2 separate regions of the Homo sapiens genome follow, and region 2 is linked to region 1. Evidence: promoter capture Hi-C in 16 types of primary human blood cells and fetal thymus (Javierre and others, 2016). All regions are on one chromosome and are shown on one strand. The core of a region is centred on a gene start or on the middle of the fragment in contact, and the rest is flanking DNA. Distances in the headings are between cores, read along the strand shown.

Evidence for each region. The method cuts DNA at HindIII sites, captures the fragments that hold promoters and counts their contacts. A CHiCAGO score of 5 or more calls a contact.
Region 2: the fragment with the promoter of NLRP13 here is called in contact with the fragment with the promoter of ZNF835 in region 1 in 3 of 17 cell types (endothelial precursors, activated CD4 T cells and M0 macrophages); the score reaches 5.8 in endothelial precursors.

What each region holds. Positions count from the first base shown.
Region 1 is chr19:56,670,002-56,673,273 of GRCh38, forward strand. It overlaps ZNF835 (zinc finger protein 835), which reads right to left and starts at 1,756. Exons shown (of 2, transcript NM_001005850.3): 1 at 1,575-1,756. It overlaps LOC105372473 (a long non-coding RNA gene), which reads left to right and starts at 1,978. Exons shown (of 4, transcript XR_936110.4): 1 at 1,978-2,430. The HindIII fragment of the contact is 4,177 bases long and covers 1-1,850 here.
Region 2 is chr19:55,930,677-55,933,948 of GRCh38, forward strand. NLRP13 (NLR family pyrin domain containing 13) reads right to left here and starts at 1,660. Exons shown (of 11, transcript NM_176810.2): 1 at 1,317-1,660. The coding sequence starts at 1,635. The HindIII fragment of the contact is 1,470 bases long and covers 1,535-3,004 here.

The DNA.
Region 1 (3,272 bases), core at 506-3,005:
AGCATAAATGTACTTGGGGGCCTACCAGGAGTCCTCCATTAGCATAAATGTACTTGGGGGCCTATCAGGAGTCCTCCATTAGCATAAATGTACTTGGGGGCCTATCAGGAGTCCTCCATTAGCATAAATGTACTTGGGGGCCTATCAGGAGTCCTCCATTAGCATAAACACAGGTGTGGTTGCAGGGGGCTTATTAAGAGTTGCAGAAGACACTCCTTCTACCCCTGTCACTCAGGAAATTCCAAGGGTTTTAGGGGCTCTGGTACCAGGAGCTGGGGATAAAGATTAAACATATATTTCTTATTATATCACAAGATCACAGGAAGACACATGCATTACATCACACTCTGACACACACAGGGTCATACACAATCATACCTGCCCAGACACACACAGACATGCAGAGACACCCAAACCCATATCCAGGGACACACAGTCGCCCTCCTAACCCCCATGCAAGGAGGCAGGTGGGAAGCCATCACCTGCAGCCACACTCACACATGCACACAGGGTCCCGGGCACACGTAGCTACACACACACCCAGCCCCACACGTAGCTCCCTGTGTGAAGAGGTGCACAGAGACGCACAAGGTCACACATGCCACCTGCTCCACACAGGCCGGCCATTACTGGGACACACCCACAGGGGATGGCTGGACACATGTGCAGTCACACTCGGTGGATAGAGCTCCAGCATAGCCAAAGCCCACATGTGCAGCGTCTCCATCATGTGCAGATGCACACACTTCAGACAGCACGGCACTCTACAGGCTCGCACAGCCAGGTCACCCATCATTGTGCTGGCAGGCACACGGGCCGAGCCAGCCTACACGGCGGCACACCCAGACATGCACACGTGGGGTCACACACCTCACATCCAGGAGAACTTTCAGACTTGCCCAAAGGCAGCCACACGTGTATGTGACATGCTGTGATATGCAGACACCGCTTCACATGAACGAGCACATAACACACCGATAAAGTGTTACATGCCTTTACCTGCAGTCACCTGCCTGGGCTGGCACCACTGAGTGAGCAGGTGCAGACACAGTGACACTCGGGGACGGGCTCACAGGCAGTCACACACCTGCAAGGCCTGGCACCGCCGAGTGAGCAGGTACAGACACAGTGATGGGCTGGCACCGCCAAGTGAGCAGGGGCAGACGCTGTGACACTCAGGGACGGGCTCACAGGCAGTCACACACCTGCACCTGCTGGTACCGTCGAGTGAGCAGGTGCAGACGCTGTGACACTCAGGGACAGGCTCACAGCCAGTCACACACCTGCACGGCCTGGCACCGCCAAGTGAGCAGGTACAGACACAGTGACGGGCTGGCACCGCCGAGTAAGCAGGTGCAGATGCAGTGACAGGCTCACAGGCAGTCACACACCTGCACCTGCTGGTACCGTCGAGTGACCAGGTGCAGACGCTGTGTTACTCAGGGACGGGCTCACAGGCAGTCACACACCTATACGGGCTGACACCGCTAAGTGAACAGGTGCAGACACAATGGCACTCGGGGACGGGCTCACACGCGGTCACACACCTGCAGGAACACGCGCACACTACACACCGTTGCTCTCGCCTCCCGGTATCACCTTCGAACGCGCTGGCCGGCCCCCTCCTAGCCTGGTGCAGTCGGCTCCGCTTCTACTCAGTCTCGGGTCCTCCTGGGCCAACGCAGACCCTGGTGCCTCCTTCCTTAGACGAGCTAAGGTCAAGACTTCTGCTGCTGCGGAGGAGCCCGCGCACCAGGCCGGGGTGGACTGCGCCTGCGCATCGGGCCCGCCTGGTTCTTAGGAACTACGACTCCCAGGGGGCGCTGCGCGCTCGCCGGCACCGCGACTAAAGCTTGCAAAGCCTGGGTCATCGAAACTACAACTCCCAGAAGGCTAAGCGTCTGCACACGCTAGGTCCGCAGGGCGCTGACCCCTGGGGGCCCGAGGAGCGCCGGGCTGCTGCCCCGAGCCCCGCCCACTACAGCCTCAGTGCATGGCGGTGGGCGCTTCCAGTAACTCAGGGGTGGGACTTTTTTCTTGCTCAGGGGATGAGGCCGAGCCCACAGGCTTAGAAAGAAGGAACTTGAGTCCGGGCACCTGTCATCCCAGCGCTTAGGGAGGCCGAGGCGGGTGGATCACCTGAGGTCAGGAGTTCGAGACCAGCCTGGCCAATATGGCGAAACCCCCGTCTCTACTAAAAATACAAAAATTAGCCGAGCATGGTGGCATGCACTTCCAGCTACTTGGAAGGCTGAGGCGGGAGAATGGCTTGAACCTGGGAGGCGAGGGTTGCAGTGAGCTGAGATCGCACCACTGCACTCCAGCCTGGGTGACAGAGCGAGACTTCGTCTCAAAAAAAAAGAAGAAGAAAGAAGGAAGCTGAGGTTCAGACAGGCTAAGTCCCTACTGCAGGCTGCGGAATCTAAAAAGGTAGGTGCCAGGGTTTGCAACCCACACTTTTATTTTGGTCTCAGGTAGCTGATGTCATTCCAGTCTATGGCAAAGAAGGTGGCAAATCCATTAACATAGATGAAGAATTTCATTTTACTTTTTAGTTTTATTTATTTATTTATTTTTATTATGTATCATGCTTTTAATACAAACTTTAAAAAATCTGGAACAATAGAAACTGTACAGATTTGATCAATCTTTTTGTTTTGTTTTTAAACTAAAATCTCTAAACACACCAATGTCCTATTCCAAAATATTGCACAACATTCTGAATACAAAACCCTTGATTGTATTCCTCCTTCACTGAAGAAAAAACTTCATGACCCTGCTCCCCGGGCTCCTCTCCAGGCTTGCGTCAATGCCCCCTTCCCATCCCTAGGGAGAAAACTAGAGAATCTATAACTCACTGCATTGAGAAAAAGACATCATTCTGGACTAACAGTTTCCATTCTTCAGAAGATAATCCACCTTTTGATTTGTTCCTGGGAAACAGGGATAGATAGAGGATGGGGAAAGGGGAGAAAAGGTTTTATTTCTCCTCTTTTTTTTTTAAAGTTTGTTTTTCCTGAAAAAATATGTTTCTCTCATCTTTTTAAGAAAAAATCTTGAAAAGAAAAAAATTGTTTTTACGTTAGAAATATACATATATTATATATACCTCTTACATTTTACAAATGTAGCAAATTATTCAATACAAACGGACACCAAAAAATGTAAAAAATAAAAAAAAGTTTTCCTAAGAACCAGGTAAATTAGTGCAGATTTCTGTTTTTGTTTTCTTAAAAAAAATAAAATTGAAGCAAAAGTGCCTAGATTTGAGA
Region 2 (3,272 bases), core at 410-2,909, 740 kb before region 1:
ACTCCATCTCAAAAAAAAAAAAAAAAAAAAAGAGTCAATGTCTGGTTTATAACAGGCACCAGGAAACATGATTATTTTCAACAGCTCTCATAGGCAGTCAGTTCTTTTATAAAGTGATGTGTGCATTCTGAAAACTCACCACAGCAGATTACATGGTGCACTAAGACCAGACGGCTTACAGGAGATAGAATCAGTGATTATATATATATATATATATATATAAAATTTTAACCAGAAGCTTAAACAGCATGGTTTTATACTTGCTGATTAATTACAAAACACTTTATTACCACAATAAACACTGCACGATCCTACAACACCACAATCAGCCCTGTAACACCTCAGCAGGTCTTGCAATGCCACAGAAGATGTGGCATGAAACTTTACCCTGAGTAAAACATGAACTTTGCTTGTGAATATGGGAAGTGTCGCAGCTTGTGAGTTTTTGTGAAGTGAAAGAACAATGATCTGAAATCAGACAGAAAGTGTAGAATGGGCAAGGCTCGTACTGAGGAAGCGGGTAGATGTTTGAGGTACATGCCTGTGTGCATTGTGTACAATCCTACATGGCTCTGCTCGGCTGAGTGCAGGGTCGGTGGGTTGCGGGGGCAGGGCGGGGGTTGTTGTGGTTTCTTAGTGTTTCTCTTGGGCAAAACCATGCATAAGCTAACATGAAATCTGTGCTGCACTCAAATTGTTCCCAGTACGACAATCACACTGGGACAAATTTGCATGTTTAAAAGAAGCCTGGGCTGGGCGCGGTGGCTCACGCCTGTAATCCCAGTGCTTTGGGAGGTCGAGGCGAGCAGATCACGAGGTCAGGAGATTGAGACCATCCTGGCTAACACAGTGAAACCCCGTCTCTACTAAAAATACAAAAAAATTAGCCGGGTGTGGTGGCGGGCGCCTGTAGTCCCAGCTACTTGGGAGGCTGAGGCAGGAGAATCGCTTCAACCTGGGAGGCAGAGGTTACAGTGACCTCAGATCGCACCACTGCACTCCAGCCTGGGCGACAGAGTGGAGACTCAGGCTCAAAAAAAAAAAAAAAAGAAAGAAAGAAAGAAAGAAAAAGGCTTATAACATAACTGAATGTGCCTCTTCCGATTCCCTTTCTTGCCTTTGCTACTCCTTCCCAGGCTAGAGCACTAAATCTTTATAGCCTTTATGCCTTTAAACATCATACTGTCATAGATTATCAAGGAGGATTTGTAGGGGGAGATCGGCAGTGTGGAATGACCCCACAAAAACCCAGCGGCTACCTCCTTGCCTCAGGAGTACCAAGCAGCCCTCCCGCCTTCCTTCTTGAGGACTCTCACCTTTCATCTCGGCTCTAACTTTCTCACACAGTGAGGTCAGATTCATTGTCTGGAAGATGCCGAGGACCACTTTCCATGCCTGACCTTTTGGGAAGTGTTCATCCAAAAGAAAGGACAGATTCAAAGGGTCGGCAGCTCTCAAGTTTGCCCAGGGGATACGCGGGAAGTGCCCCTGGGGGGCCGACCAGAAGTCCATCAGCTGCTGGGGTTCCAAGCAAAGCTTGAATTCCTCCAGCTGATACTGATCCAGGGCCATCAGGTAAGGCAGAAGCCCTTGGTTGGTACCACCGTTGGGGCAGGTGATTACAGAAAAGTTCATCTTGCCCAACACATGCAGTTTCTCACTTCAGCAAAGGACTCCTATATCCACAGGACACTTGTGACCTGCAGAAAAGGAGAGAGTTGAAATCATAAGCCATAAATATCACCTCCTCTCACTGTCTTGCCTACACATTTGAGTATTTTCGCTTCACAGTACTTCCTGCTACTTGTGTTAGTACACTTTTTTGTTGTTGTTTTGTTTTTTGAGATGGAGTCTCGCTCTGTCCCCCAAGCTGAAGTGCAATGGTGCGATCTCGGCTCACTGCAAGCTCCGCCTCCCGGGTTCACGCCATTCTCCTGCCTCAGCCTCTTGAGTAGCTGGGACTACAGGTGCCCGCCACCACGCCCAGCTAGTTTTTTTTGTATTTTTAGTACAGATGGGGTTTCACCGTGTTAGCCAGGATGGTCTCGATCTCCTGACCTTGTGATCCGCCCGCCTCGGCCTCCCAAAGTGTTGGGATTACAGGCGTGAGCCACCGGGCCCGGCCTCAACTGGGTATTTTCTCTAGCAACCTTACCTAGACTCGAGATCACTGGCTTTCATCCCATCCCAGAAGGAACAATGCCATCAGCACCTGATTTATCTGCCTTACTAACAGTGACAGCTGTCCTAGAAAAGTTACAGGTGCATGATGGTACTTACCAACTCACATTCAGAGGGTTCACCTGAAATGTGAATAAGAAGAACATTGAAGTTAATTAGTCACAGTAAAGATCAAAGACATTTGAGAGATGGGAACGGGGGAAACTAATCAGGGAGAAGGGGTAACAAAGAGAGAAAATAGAAGTTTCCGCCCATCACGATTTTGGCCACCAGGCAGCTAATGGTGATTGAGACAGATCTGCCACTATTCCCCCATAGAACCTGGTCCGGCATGTATGCTGGGTCATGTCAAAATACCAGGTAGTATTGAAGGCAACAGATAGACAGCAGAACAAAAGACTTTTTTTTTTGTGATGGAGTTTCGCTCTCGTTGCCCAGGCTGGAGTGCAATGGCTGGATCTCGGCTCACTGGAGTCTTTGCCTCCCAGGTTCAAGTGATTCTCTTGCCTCAGCGTCCGAGTAGCTGGGACTACAGGTGCATACTGGCCTTGGCCTCCCAAAATGCTGGGATTACAGGCATGAGCCACCATGCCTGGCCCAAAACACTATGCTTGAAGCTACTGGTGTGTGACCCCCGAATGTCTCCCAAAGAGAAATCTCCAGAAGAGATGTATGTTAGGACCTACCCTGGCAGCCCAAATTCATTGGACTACTCCAGAAATTGTTGGAGAAAAGATGGGGAAAGACACACAGAGGAAAACTTGAAACATCATGAAGAAAAGCCCTTTCAGGTATAAGCAGGGAGGATAAAGACTAGGGGAAAAGCTTATTTGAGAATCAAATGACATTAAGCTATCATTGAACACCCAGTAGAAGCTGAGCAAGGGGGCTGGGCGCGGTGGCTCACACCTGTAATCCTAGTTTTAGGAGGCCAAGGTGGGCAGATCACATGAGGTCAGGAGCTTGAGACCAGCCTGGCCAACATGGTGAAACCCCGTCTCTACCAAAAATACAAAAATTAGGTGGGCATGGTGGTGGGTGCCTGTAATCCCAGCTACTCAGGAGGCTGAGGCAGGAGAATAGCTTGAACC